2 separate regions of the Homo sapiens genome follow, and region 2 is linked to region 1. Evidence: promoter capture Hi-C in human tissues and cell types (Jung and others, 2019). All regions are on one chromosome and are shown on one strand. Each heading gives the region's core, a stretch centred on a gene start or on the middle of the fragment in contact. The rest is flanking DNA. Distances are from core to core; before and after follow the strand shown.

What was found. The method cuts DNA at HindIII sites, captures the fragments that hold promoters and counts their contacts. A contact is called where the count stands out against the background at its distance.
Region 2: a fragment that was not itself captured here is called in contact with the fragment with the promoter of PTPN3 in region 1 in 1 of the 25 tissues and cell types used here (dorsolateral prefrontal cortex).

The regions. Positions count from the first base shown.
Region 1 is chr9:109,494,437-109,501,797 of GRCh38, reverse strand. It overlaps PTPN3 (protein tyrosine phosphatase non-receptor type 3), which reads left to right and starts at 3,491. Exons shown (of 26, transcript NM_002829.4): 1 at 3,491-3,579. The HindIII fragment of the contact is 6,343 bases long and covers 1,254-7,361 here.
Region 2 is chr9:110,154,870-110,162,003 of GRCh38, reverse strand. It overlaps PALM2AKAP2 (PALM2 and AKAP2 fusion), which reads right to left. Exons shown (of 11, transcript NM_007203.5): 9 at 5,507-5,685. LOC124902244 (a long non-coding RNA gene) reads right to left here. Exons shown (of 2, transcript XR_007061727.1): 2 at 5,801-6,924. Among named protein-coding and RNA genes, the nearest start is that of C9orf152, 50 kb to the left of the region's middle. RefSeq lists a silencer at 4,962-5,011. The HindIII fragment of the contact is 9,360 bases long and covers 1-7,134 here.

The DNA of each region.
Region 1 (7,361 bases), core at 2,242-4,741:
CCAAAGTGAATGCCCAGAGACGATAATCTATGTGGGTCCTCTCTGGACCAGTCGATCTGGGACTGAGTACAGCTCTATTCCCAATTGGGCTTTAATTTGCTCTACACTTGGCTGAGTTCAACAATAGCCTAAGAAGATTATGTGCCCATTCAAAAGCCCCATTTACGTAAGGTTTGGGAGCTTATGATATAAGATCAACTGTCATTGGTAATAATAACCTTATGTCACTCCAGATGCAACAGCTTAAAAGGATAGACTTTAACATTTTGGCCCCAAGAATAAAACAGTAACAGGAGACTAGAACATTTAAAGGTAATCTGTAGCCTACAAACACATCAAAGGGTAGAGAAAATAAGGCAAAAAACCCTACAAAATTAGATGACATATAGCTTCTCTTATCATCAATACATGGTAATCTACTACACAGAGAGGCAGTGTGTCCTAAAACCTAACACCCTGACTTTGAGATCAGATTGACTTGTGTTCAAATCCTCACCCCCTTAACAGCTGTGAACAGCCCCTAGATTGTTTTCTCTTCTGTAAAACTGAGCTAAAACACCCACTCTGTAGAGTGATGGTAAGGATTAAAGAGAGAATATATATAAAATATTCATCGTACTTGAGCTTGATAATAGCAGTTACTGTAACTGGATATACACAAAACAAGAATTTTTAATTTGATCTTTTAAATGCTTATTATTGCAAACATGTCATTGTGACATTAATAAACTTTTAAAAAACACCCAAACTTACTACTCCAAAAAAATGACTAGTTAATTTTCCCATATTTCCTTCCAGTCTTGGTGAATGTGTCAACACCATGTTTATACAATCTATTTGTGTTTTTAGCTTTTTTTTTTTTTTTTATTTGAGACAGAATCTCGCTCTGTCATACAGGCTGAAGTACAAATGGTGCCATCACAACTCACTGCAGCCTTGACCTTCCTGGCTCAAGAGATCCTCCCACCTCAGCCTCCCATGTAGCTGAGGCCACAGGTGCATGCCACCACACCTGGATAAGTTTTTTTTTGTAAAGATGGGGTCTTGCTATGTTGCCCAGGCTGGTCCTGAACTCTTGGGCTTAAGCTACCTTCTCACCTGGATCTCCCAAAGTGCTGGGATTACAGGCATGAGCCACCTCACCCGACCTGTTTTCTGCGGTTTTTTTTTTTTTCATTTAACATTGTACCGTGTTTTCCCTGTTGCAACATGGTCTTTTTAACTTAGTGTAAGATAGTTATTATTTCAACTAATATACCATAACCTAATTAATCATCCCTCTGTTATTGAGTACTTAGTTTGTTTCCAATTTGGGGAGTATTCTTTCATTTTGTTCCTGCTTCTGTTATGGTGATTTAAAACGCATGATTTTTAAAATATTTAGGTCTTTCCTTTAGGTGTAAGCATGTTCCTAGCTCAAAGTTGAGGGCATCGTTTAAGCTAACAGCTGTTAGCTGTGGGAAAAGAAAAGGTAATTTCAGTCTAGGGGTCAGCAGATTAAGACAACTTCGAAAATTCACACATCCTCCGTTGACCTCGGTTTCCTCATCTCAGCAGTTGGCAAACTGGCATGAGGATGACGGCTGATTTTGGTAGGCACTCAAGAAATGGATCTTTAAGGTGGTCTAAACACGTTCACGTTCCTTATTTCACTCAACTTCCACTCGGGTGCCCAGATCGAAGCGTAGGTATTCACAATGGTTGAAGCACAGAGAGGATAAGGCAGTGGGGAAAGGACAGAGAATGCCTCCTGCTGAGCCCGGGGGCGCTGGGTGGAGCTCTGCGGGGGGCGTCGCCTGCCCCTCCAGGGGGCTCCTCCTTCCGGGGGCTCCGGCCCCGCCCGGCTCCGAGCATGCCCAGTGCGCTCCCCGCCCGTCCGAGTGGTGCTGAGCGGGCGCCGCGGCTCCAGGTTTTGCTGGCGACTCGAGGCCGGGCCGGGCCGGGCGGGGCGCGGGCGGTCCTGCCCCTGGACTCCGGGCTCCGTCGGAAATCCCCCCGACGCGATGCACGGGCGGCACCCGCTGCAGCGGCGCTATCCCGGGACGTGCGACTCCGGGACAAGGACCGAAATGAGGTTCCAGGGGCTGCCGAGGCCTCAGTCTATCCCTGGAACGACTGCCCCCAGGACCTGGCACCCAGGCCCGACTGGAGGGTTCCAACCATCTCTGCATCCCTTCGTTCACATATTCAACAAATAATGTTTGAGCGCCTAGTGTGTGCCAGACAGTGTTGCAGGGGGGTCACTGCAGTAAAGACAAGCAGAGCTACAGCCCCAAAGCTGACATTTAGGAGGGAAATACAACATGAGAATTAAACAAATCGGAGGAAAAGCCAAAGTGACCAACCTCATCTGCTCCTCTGCCTCCTTGCCGTTCCCTAAGCGGTCCGGCGCTCTTTTGGGTCTTGGCACTGGCTGTTCCCTCGGCCAGGAATGCTCTTCCCTGCTTATCTGCGTGGCTGAAATACCACTATCACCTTCTCAGTGTCACCCAATCAGACCGTCCATCAGCTCAAGGGCCCTATCCGACCGCTTCACTGAAAATTCACTGCTTACCTCCAGCCCCAAATCTCCTGACCCTGCTCTTTTTCCTCTTAGAACTTATCACTTTCTAATATAATGCATAGTTTGCTAATTTGCTGTTTATCTGTTACCTGTCCCTCTTTCCCCAAACTCCACTGGGGGACAGAATTTTTGTCTATTTGTTCCCCACGCGAGAAAAACCAGAATAGGTGCTCAATAAATATTTGCTGAAAATGGATAAATCACTGTTAAATGCTATGAAGAAAACAGAGTACACGGAGTGGTCAGGAGCAGAGGGCTAATCGAGGAAGGTGGTCAGGAAAGGCCTCTCTGAGGAGGGGACCTATGTACAATGAGAAGGCGCCGGCCACGTGAAAAGCTGGGCAAGAACGTCCCACAGAGGGAAAGGCGGGCGCCAATGTCCTGAGGTTAGTGAAGTTCGAGTGTTTGATGGACAGAAAGGCGCTCTAGGATCCGCAGGAAGGCAGGTGTGAGATGAGACGGAGGTGGGAAGCAGGAGCACAGATCAGGTAGGGGTCCCACGAGCCTTGGGGAGGTTTAACCAGGGAAGCTTACTAGTGCCAAGGGACGAGCACTGGACTGGAAGTCAGCGGGACCTCAGCTCAACCGCGCACCCGTCGTGCAAGACTCCTCATTTCAAAGTTTCTTTGGGCGCCGACTTCTTGCCTTCCCTAGGCATGAAATCACTGAGGGCCTGGCACACAGTAGGTGCCCAGTCATGGCTGTGGAACGAATGGCTGCATGCATGCGCGAGGGAACTCAGGACCTGCCCGGAGCTCGGCGGAGAGCCCCGGTGCCCCTAGGAGATGCGTCGGGGCGCGCCAGCCCGGGGCGGGGGCGGGAGAACACCGCAGGCCAGCCCGGACGCCCGCCCCCCGCCCGGCGCGCGGGCCCGTCGCGGCCAGCCCGGCCGGCGGGAACCGCCCGCGGGCGGCACTGGGCATGCTCAGACGGCGGCCAGGTCGCGCCGCGAGCGAGCTTCCGCGCCGCCCGCACGCGCGACCTACCTGGGCGCTCCGCGCCCCCGGATGCTGCAGGTACGGGCCCGTGCGACCCCAGCGGGCCGGGGGCAGGGTGCGGGGCTGCCGGGGGCCGGGGTCGCGCTCGGCGCCACCCCGCCCCCACCCGTCCCTGGGGCGCGCGGCGGACGCGCGGGCGGGCTGGCGGGTGCGGCTGCACCGGGATCCCCGCACCACGTCGGGGCGGGGAGGGGGCGCCCCGCTGCGCTCACCTGGCGGGGCCGGGGCGGGAGGGCGCGGGCGGGGCGCCGGGTGGGGCTCGGCCGGGGCGGGCTGGCGGCCGGGACGCGGCGCCGGAGCGTGGGCGTGCGCTCCAGCCGGGCAGGGGCGGGCGCAACCCGCGGAGCCCGTGCGTCCGGCACCTCCGGAGGACCCCGTGCCGCCGCGACCCCGGCTCGGGGCTCCGAGGGGGCACACAGCCCGCGGGGAGCTAGCCGAGAGCGGCTGCCAGCGCTCGGCTCCCAGGGCGAATCCGCCTCTCGGCTTTCAAAGATGGCATTTCCTGGGCCTGGCACGAAACTCCAGAGCCAATAAATCCTCCCCGTTCCGCGGACGATATGGAATGATTTATCAGGTACCTGCGGTGAGACAGCTGCAGATGGGGGAGTGTATGTGAGAGTGCCCAGCCCCCCCGAAATTCCCATTTTCAGCTACCTAAACTTACTGAGAAGTTGCGGTTGCCTTAAAAATTCATGGGAAGTTGAGACAACTTGACACCTGGGTTTTCCAAGCTGGTGGAAAGAGCTTGTGACTTGGAAACTGGAGACCTCCGTTCAAGTTGGGCTCCCCCTTGGCCAGCTGGTGACCTTGGCAAGTTGTTTAACCTCTCTGGTCCTCAGTTTCCTCCCTTGCAATCAGCTGGTAATAATGCCCACCTCGCTGGGTTGTTGAGTGGATTAAGTGGGATAAATTATGTGGAGGTGTTTGGCACCGTGCCCGGCACAAAGCTAGCAAGCAGTTGGCGTGATGTGAATTTAATTCGTTTAGAGACCCTCGTGGCTCTCATTTCAGGAGGAAATTAGAATTAGGAAACCATCTTCAGGGCCTAGTGGTGGAGTGACAGACCCTGTCTCTGTGCCCAGGAGAACTTCTGCCGAAGTCAAGGCCTTCGGAAAAACAATTTAGCCGAATTGTAATCAGAGAGCATCTCCTTTAAAAGCAGTTTTATACATTCAGAAACTCCAGAAGTTGGCAGTTGGCTTCACTTACAAAAGAGCTGTTTTGCAAGATGATCCATCTTGCAAATGTTTAAGCAGATGATGGGAGAAAGTAAAGCCTGCTTAGGAAGATTTCTGTTTTAAAAAGCTCCCAAATCCAACTTTAAGCGATTATTTAGATCAGGGTTTCTCAGCCTTGCACTATTGACATTTAGGGTTTGATAATTCTTTGTGTCCTGGGCATTGTAGGGTTTAGAAGCATCCCTGGTCTGTAGATTCCAGTAGCAATTCCTGTTCCCCAGTTGTTCCAATCAAAAATGCCTCCAGTATTGTCAGATGTCCCCTAGGGAGCAAAATGCCACCCCAGCACCCCTTTAGAACCACCAATTTAATTCTTGCTTTCTGTCATTAGCCCGAGTTGTTTGAGAATTTCATCTTGTGCTTTTGTAATAACTAACCTTTGCATAGCCTTATAGAACTTACAGAGTACATTCACCTGTATCGTCTTATTTAATCTTTACAACTCCCTTGTGAGACTGGTGTCACTCCCATTTTACAGATGAGGACATGGAGGCTCTGAGCAGCCAATTACACAGTATGTGGTAGAGCTGGGGTGTAACCCAAGTCTCCTGGTTCCAAGGGCAGGTCTTTTTCTTCTGCATCAAGCTGCCTGTCCCTTTGTTGTATGGAGGCTTTGATATGGATGACTTTCCGGATGATTAAATCAAGATGTGAAGTATATTGGAAGTTGGAAACTTTTCTGAGATTGACTAGTTGAAAATTAACAACAGTAAGCTATTATCTGACAGAGTAGGCCATTCTAGTTAAATATTCTAGTTTATAGCGAGCTCCCATAAATCCCACATGCAGTTAATGGAATACCAATTTGCAGAGAATTAGAGTAGAATAGAACGTGCCTAATACTCTGTATTGATCCTGCGTTTTCTCTGGTGATTTGCCATCTCCTAAAAAGGACTCATATATGCAAATTAGACATTAGCTGGGGAATATAAAAGGTCAAGTTACTGAAGGCATTTCAGAGTAGCTGAGGCATTTATTGAACTTCTGTATGGCAGATGTAGTGCTGAGTGGGGATGTGGGGTGCACCCCAGAGAATCCAGGTTGCCTGCATCCACTTCCGTGCAGGAAAGGGCAGGCCCTGGTCAGGCCAGACAGGTGGTGGGCCCTCAGACAGCTTGGAGCAGGAGAAAAAGCCCAAGTTACCATGGAAGCAGATTCAGGATCCCTTACCATATCATCAGTCATGTCTCTGACCCCTCGATTCATCTTTTATCATACAGAAGATACTCTGGTAGTTTTAAGCATTCTCATTCAAGTCTCAGAGACCTGGTTAGGGAGGCAAGGTCAGAGACAAATCTTATCCCTGGAAAAAGCTGGGGTTCCGAGGTGGTAATTGGCTTCAGAGAATTGAGAGCAACGCTTTGTTGGCTGTGAACTGGAAGGTTTCACACACAGTGGGGTTTGTTGCTGCCAAACCCCACCCCATTCCCCACCTTGCAGATAAGGAAACTGAGCTGGCAAAGGTAGAGTGGGGCCAGGAGCAAGAGGGACCAATTTTGACCTTCTGAACTACAGGTCCAGGCACACAAGAGACATTTTCTAGGACAGGCATAACCTACCAGAAGGGCTCAGCTTTGGGGATGGGAGGGAGTGAGAAGACATGGCACCCTGCCTTTCCCCAACCCTCCGGGTTTGTGGTGGTTGAGAAAAGACCAGCAATTTGTGGTCCCTACATCTTTTCCCAGGAGAGCTCACCTTCCAGCATTGCGGTCCTGGAAAGCAGGGACAATGCCTCTTTATCTTTTCCCAAGATCTGTTGTAGAAGCTGGAATGCTGAAGGCACCCAGCACATACCCTGGTCTGGAAGGGCTGGTGGGGGTGCAGTAGCCTACCCAGCATCAGCTCTTCATTCCAACTCTAATAGAGACAGGAGGAGACCAGGTCAGTGTCCACACTGCTCTTGGCTGGGTCCAGGTGACCTCAGAGCCTGATCTTATAGATGTCTTCTTTCCTCTGGCCGAGAAGGACCTGAGAAGTGCTTGGTAAGCCCCTGGCTGAAAACTGATTTGGTAATGGGTTCTAAGACCCAGAAATGTTGCATCTCCAGAGCTTCTGCTTGTGTGTGCACCTGAAGCTTCCCACTGCCCCCAGGTTAACTTGTTATTCCAAGACCAGGTGTGAGCACAGATTTAACAGCAAATTGAGACATTTATTGAGTCTCTACCATGTATTAGGCCATAGGGCTACAGAGGTGAACGCTGAACCCCTGCCTTGGAAGGATTCATGGTGGATTTGGAAAGACAGTTTGTATATGTGTATGTGCGTCCCCATCCATCTGTCCATGGTCCTGTAAGTACTTTAAAAGGATAAGCTAGGTGCAAGAGACACCAGAGGATGCAGCCATTCATTCCGATGGGCATCAGGAGACACTGTGGAGCGTAGTTCTAACCATGGGGAGAAGTTAGTTCTAACTTCAAGGCATAATTTGAATTAAGCCTCAAACTTAGGAACAAGATGGCATTTAGGGCAGGCAAAACAGCAGGGGCAAAGGCATGAAGAGACTTTGTGGATCATAGGCGTGGTGATTCTTCTCCAAGTCCAACCTGGTCTTTTTTGTTTTTT
Region 2 (7,134 bases), core at 3,402-5,901, 660 kb before region 1:
AGGATGGGAGGGGAAGTAATACCAGGAGGCCATTCTACACCCATGCCAAAACTTTCTCCATCTGATATTAGTTTATTTATAAGTCTATTCTTTGCAGCAACTAGATACCCTATTGTTCACTAATAAAAATATCAGATAAGCCGTACTTTGTTAATTCAAAACGTTGCTTTCAGTTTCTGTACTTTGAATTAACAAGATTCCTTCCCCTCTGTACACAATCAGCTGCCCACCAGCAAGGTCGTTGGGGGCCATTTTGGATTTGCTAGAGTCTGTAGCCAAATAGCCTTTTCTCTTCCCGTAGGCTTCTCTGAACCCCAAAGCCGTCTTGTAACCTGTTGTTCCATTAAAAGAAGATCCTAATCACAGCAGTTGGTTTGTGGAGGCAGATTCTCTGAAACCGGCCTAAGGGTAGTCTTGCCTAGGGAGACCACACAGCCTCCCTCGTCAGAACCCTGGGGGCCTGGGTAAGTTCCTGAGAGTGGGATCATCCTTTGATAGCAATTTCTGGTGATTATATAGGATTATTAGTATGAGCACTTAGGAACTGAAATGATCCTTTAGTTCCTATAGGGGACTAAAAGTCTTACTCAAAGTACAGAAAAAAATGGCCTGACTATGGAAAATGAGATGGCAGGACCAATTTGGGACATCCCTCTCCAGAATTATGGTAATGAGCGTACATTTACACTGCTTGGGGCATTTAAAGCATTTATTGGTTTGGGGCATTGATAGCCATAGACTAGTTAGGTGGGATCACACATCTGTGATTGCTGACTGCTTCTTATATGTAGCACTTAGGAATTATAGTTCTGTCATGATTGGGCTAATGGCTGGGAGCTGACAAGTCAGGAGCTCTTCTCTCTCCTTTGCATCTTCACTAGGGTACGAGTGAGAACGTAAGAGAGAGTTAGGGAAGCACAAGGCATCACTGAGCTTCCTGTAGCGTCTGGGGAAACAGGAGGCAGATAGGCTTCCTTCACACACTGAGCGAGAGTATGGCCACAACTCTCAATGCATGTCCTGGTCTGGAAGGGTAATGTGTGCCAGGAACTCTCAGCTTTGACGTAGCCCAGGAAAACCGACGAGGTCTTCTCTTGTTCTAAGATGAGACAGAGTGGTTGGATGACCTCTCAGTAATGAAGTCATGGGATGAGAAAGAGAGAGAGAGCACACTGGAAAACCCCACTGAGGGCAGATCCTGCGCTAAAAGTAAAGATGGGGCTGAACATCCAGGAGGCTGTGATTTGGACTCTGGTCAGCATCCCTTCAACTGAGAAAGGCAAAGCAAACCCTCGAGATGTTCATGAGCATCATTGACTCAATGACCCATCATCTTCACTTTCTGAGGCTCAGGTCAGGTTAGGGAAACAATTGGCTGGAAAAATACTGTTTGCCTAAATACAGTCATGTCACTCAGGATGGACTAATGAATCAGAGTTTCCTAGAGGGGTTCTTCATGCCTGAAGGAAAAACATCCAAATAGCCCATCATTTGTGCCCACTGATCCAAATGTCTTCCAGGTCCATGAGTGGGCAACCCCACCTTGGAGGCAGTCGCTTTGCAAGGCATCAAGAAGCCCTTTAGGAAACTAGGATTCACTAGTCCATTATGAATTGCATGACTGAGCAGAAATGGTATGAGACCCAGATAAGTGGACATTTCCACATAAGAGAACATTTCCAGATAAGAGAAACCCACAATATGAATAGGATTGCTGCATCTGGGTGTGTGTTGTGTGCACTGCACAAAAGCATCAGACTAAAGGGATGAATGGTACTAAAGCCCAGTCCCCTACTCTACCCCCCAAATGTGTGGCTGGTGCAGGGCTGCATCTTCATATCTTCATAGAGGAACAAGGGTGGTTTTTTTTCCTAATTCACACAAAGGCCTTGCATAGGTTGGTAAACAGCCTTGGGTAAGTGGGTAGGGGTGGGGATGGTAATCCTCCTGCCCTCAGAATTAGCCAAGAGGTCCATTAATAAGTGAGGCTGGAGATACTCATTGGTGACTCCAATATACAGGACAAAGAAATCAGCCCAGGTGGGTGAAGACTGTGGCAACTAAAGGGAGTACTTTGCTCAAGTTCTGAGCTAGTAACAAATATGGCTGGTTGGGGACAACCTTTGGATAACACCACTCCCTGACTCCCATAAGCCAGGGGCCTCTCTGCATATGACTTTTTATAAAGTGGAAAACTGGAGAGAGCAGGGCCCTGAGCTGAGTCCCTGTGGACAGGACCCCAGAGGCCACCACACCCCTGATGGGGGCTCGGGGGACACTGAACTTGTTTTGATGGCAAAGATCAGTTTTTCTCACTCAGCAAAACTTCAGCCGTAGCTACATTCTATCTTTCTCCTTCTGTCTTTCACTCTCCTCGATACCATTGTGTCTAACATATCACACTTTATACACATTCCAATGATCAGCGCCTGTCTTGTTTTTAACTCTGCCTTCTCCTTAAAAAGAATAAAAAATAAGAATTATTTTTGCTCAATTCACAAATAACTGTTACTTTCGATGGGCAAACACATGGTTGTGTTCTAATCACGCGACAGGCATTGATTCTCAGGTGTGGTTTATCATCTCCAAAACGGCATGCCAAAATGCTGCCAAGTGGCTTACTGGAAAAAATATTGGCAAATGGAGGTGCCAGGGGTGATGCTGCATAACATGGGGAGATGCTGGGTGTGTAGGTGTGAGCCACTGAGGTGCTTAGAGGGTGGAGAGTCTAAGAAGCCATGTTTCTCTGTGAGAATAGTGTATGTAAATGGAGGCTAGAGACCAGAATTACTTTACCTTTAAGAGAATTAACTTTATGCTTCTACGGATAGGTAAGCCAGTTACACAACTCATCCCCCCAGCAATCCATCTGCTCTCTATTACTATCCTTCTGGTATTAAAGAAAAAGAAAAAATGGAAAAGGGGCCACAGATTGGTTAGGAAAAAAATGAATGTTTGTTCATCCCTACAGGTAAACTTCAACACATTCACCAGTGATTGACACAGATACAGGAGAAAAGGTCCCCTAAATTGGAAGGGCTAGGAGAAGGCTCTCATTTGAAGCCTGACTGATGATCATATCTTTGCTTTAGAAGCAATCTGAATTTGTTGTTTTAGATTTGGGTCTCTTAAATGAGCATATAGTGGATTGGTAGATTTTGTCCTGATCCTAAGAATTTTCAACAACAGCAAACTTGGTTCTGTTGTAATAGCAATAACAGTGCAAAACATTTGGCTTTGAATCCAAGATCCAGGGATATTAACAGCTTAATTAGTTAGGTCTCTTTCTTTTTCAAAATGTTTATTTACTGGAAAATATAGAGACAGGAGGCTGCCTCTTTGATTTGTAAGTGAAGGGCAATCAGCATATTAAAACGCTGATTCCAAGCAGCTTCATTCATGCAGAGGAAAAACTCAACCTGGTTGGCATTTGTTAGGTGGCTGCCAGAGTGTCAGCGTGTGCACAAAAGAGCTTCCAGCCCTCTGCCTTTACGAAATGAGTGAGAACTGCCTCTACCCTTCTGTATGGAGTATTTTTCCCTATCATCTGCACTCCAACACAAAAGACATACACAAGTGACAAGTAGAGTGTGTTCAGCAAACACTCGCGTGGGTCACATGCTAAGTGGTTCTACTTGTTCTTCCCCATCCACATCAGAGTGTGGGGCACCCACTTGGCTAAATTCTACCAAAACTGCTGATGTATAGAGCAGAGTCACTGGGAGAAAAGAAACCAGACACCTAGAGCACCAAGTTTCAAAATGATTTAACTTTCAGAAAATTCTTAAGGCAAACTTTATCCTTTGAAGTGGGGCTTCAAAGAAGGGCTGGTGAAAGTGACTGAGTAGCCAGGGAAAAATCCTGCAGGCTCACGAAAGGAGCTGCTGGCTCCCCTACAGTGAGGTTCAGCAGTGGAAATGTCTGCAGCAGCTACCCAGGGCCGGGCATCATCCCACTGTCTAATACAGTGAAGAGCCCAGTAGAATAGCTGCAGCCTAATACAGCAGCTGAGCCAGTGCTCCACGCAGTTCAGGTGTAAACAAAAGGGAAAGCCTGGGAGATGCCAAGTGAGAAGCCAGGCTGCCAGATATCCATTTGCTTTCTTCCTTTCTTTACCGCCATATATTTTGAAAGCAACTTTCAGCATCTGGGCTTCAACTCCAGAAATCCTTTAACTTAGCCAGCTAGGATATAAAAGGCAATAAAACAGCAGGGAATTCTTACTGTGAACTTCATAGCATTCAAGTTTAAGGTGACCAGATGGTTTATCACCCAAACTGGGACACTTTCAAGAGTGAAAGGCAGGCTGGGTGCAGTGGCTCATGTCTGTAATCCCAGCACTTTAGGAGGCTGGGGTGGGAGTATCCCTTGAGCTCAGGAGTTGAAGAACAGTCTGAGCAACATAATGAGACCTCCTTTCTACAAAAAAGTTAAAAAATAAGCCAGGTATGGTGGCATACGCGTGTGGTCCCAGCTATTCAGGAGGCTGAGGCGGGAGGATTGCCTGAACCCAGGAGGTCGAGGCTGCAATGAGCCATGATTACATCAATGCATTCCAGCCTGGGTGACAGAGACAGACCCTGTCTCAACAACAACAACAACAACAACAACAAAAGAGTTGAAGGGGATATTAATAACCACAACACCACAACAGGCATAAGCCAGGACTGTCTCAGGTAAACTCAGTAGGATCCTCAACCAACCCAAGCTATCTGTGACTTAAGTGCAGTCAGGGGAGGAGGTGATGACTTCAATATGTGCTAAGAGACTGGTGCCAGAAGACCCACAGGAGGTTGGCATGAACCCTGAGGCTGATCTCCAGGCTCCTGGGACTGTGTAGAGCAACAGTTCCTATGTCTCTAACCGGAGAAAGAAACCACAGAGCATGTGACTTCCTTCACAGTTAATTTGAACGTTATGTGCAAAGTTCCGAGGGCTTGGGTGTAGCAGAGTAGCCATGTGGTTTTCAACTGTCATTTTCACTGGCTCTTTGCTTTCAAGCTATGCACATGGGCTTGTTAACAGCCCCAAACACACTCAGTCTTTTAAGCACTGTAACATTGTTAGGGATTGCCTAGAGTGTCGGCTTTGAAGGAACAGCATCTTCATCCTTTTCTAGAGAAATAAAATCTCTACTGGGCAATGGTAGAAATCAGCTCCCAGGTGCATAGGGATGATTTCAGGGCACTTGCAACCTTCTCCCTGCGTGGCCCTTGCATGCTGTCTTTCTATGCACCAAACATCTTACACACTAGCCTTGCTGGTCGACTCCAGCTATACTTGGCAGCAAAGGACCAGCTCCCTGCAAGATCAACAATTTTTTTTTGAAACAGGCAAAAACCCAAACCCAGTTCCAGGCATGTGAAACCACATATATGAAAACTGATACTGGAACCCTAATGCTGACCAGACAACGACATACACATTTGTGCCTGAACTGGAATGCCACACGCCACACCGATGGCCGCGCTCAGAGAAGTGAAAGAGGAAAGGAGGAAAAACTTACACTACTATCATCCATTCTCTCGCGCCTTTTAGATTTGTGTGTCTCATAGTCTTCCATGAGGGTCTGCATCAGATTCTTGGGCCGCTGGGTTCCGGCAGCCTCTTCAGGGGCTAAGTCAGGCTGCAAGCTGGGGCCTTCAGTGGTGGGGGATGGAGGAGGTTTGACTTTCTCTATTTTCCCTGAAACAACACGAAGAAAATACCCTTTCTAAGCTTGTCTGCTCATGACTGCTTTTAGAAAGAAAACTGGCAAATAAAAGAGCAACAACCTCTGACACAGAGAGTGGTACCAGAATGATGGTTAAGTGTAGGCCATTTTATTATATTACAGGGATCAAAGCACTTAAGGTTAATGCACAAACCCATCCAAAGATCTCAAGGACACCAAGTTCCAAAAAGTCAGTTAGATCAAACAGGCACAGCACGCATTTTGCAAATATATGTTGGACAGACCGACAGTGGCTCCAGTTGTTTTGAGATATGTATTCTATCACAGATCACAGAATTAGACTGTCAGAGGTGGTGGCACCTTGGAGACTCACAGACCCACTTCTTAACAGATGAAAGCGCTTGAGGCTCTGCCAAGGGAAGGCTGTACTCAAGTCATAGGGAGCCAGTGATGGTACCCAGGCCTCCTGCTTTCCTCACCAGGGTCTATCCTCTATAGCAGAGGAAGTCAATTGTCTGCTGACCTGCCCAGGCTTTTTGTGCAGACAGCCCAGTGTTATAAAACCTTTGAATAAGGATGAAGTTTGTTCTTCTCAGTTTGCCCCGGTCTTACACTGGCCAGCTTTATTCATTTACCTCACCTGCTGGGGTCCTGAAACATTGGGGTTTGAGGCCTCCCAGACCTTAAGAAGTGTACACCAACAAAGGCAATGGAAAAGGTGCACACCAGCCTTGGGAATGAGGAGATTTTAGCTCTCGCAATGTCCTCCAAGAATCCTCAGGATGGAGAGATGAGGTCAGTGATTAATTCAACAGTGGTGTGGTGACTCTACGCACCCTCACCAAGACCATTTCCATCCCTCCCTCCCAAGAAATGCCTGGCCCTGGCTTCTGGCCCTTCATGGGGTGGGTTTATTGACACAGAGCCCCAAATGCACTTCTGAGAAGTATCTTCAAGTATAACAATTATGATTTTTCCAATTATGCCCTTTGTGGTTGATGCGGCTAAAACCTGTGAACAAGGAATGTGGATAAAACACACAAGATAAATGGGGCTTGCATGGCTCCGTTTGGGAGGGGAAAGGGCCATTTGACCTCTTCCAGTTCCAAGCCGAAGGGGACTCACCTTTCTTCATCTTACATCCCAGGCTTCTAACTTGGCAACTGCCTGATGTAGCAGGAATCACAAGTGAAGCCTGGTGTCCACATTTCCATATGGGCTGCTTAGCCCTTTACTGGCACAACCTCCTTCTGATGAGAGATACAAAGGCCTGGAGTCCAGGAAACCCAGGTTTTTAACTCCTGCTCTTCCAGTACTTGGCTACGTGACTGACTATAGATCATCGTTTCATATTCCCATTTCAATCGTGGGCTGATCACTTAAATTCTCCTAGCTTTAACTGCCATAGCGGTTAAATGGGAATTTTGGAAGAAGTTATCTTTGTGGTCTCTTCTAACTCA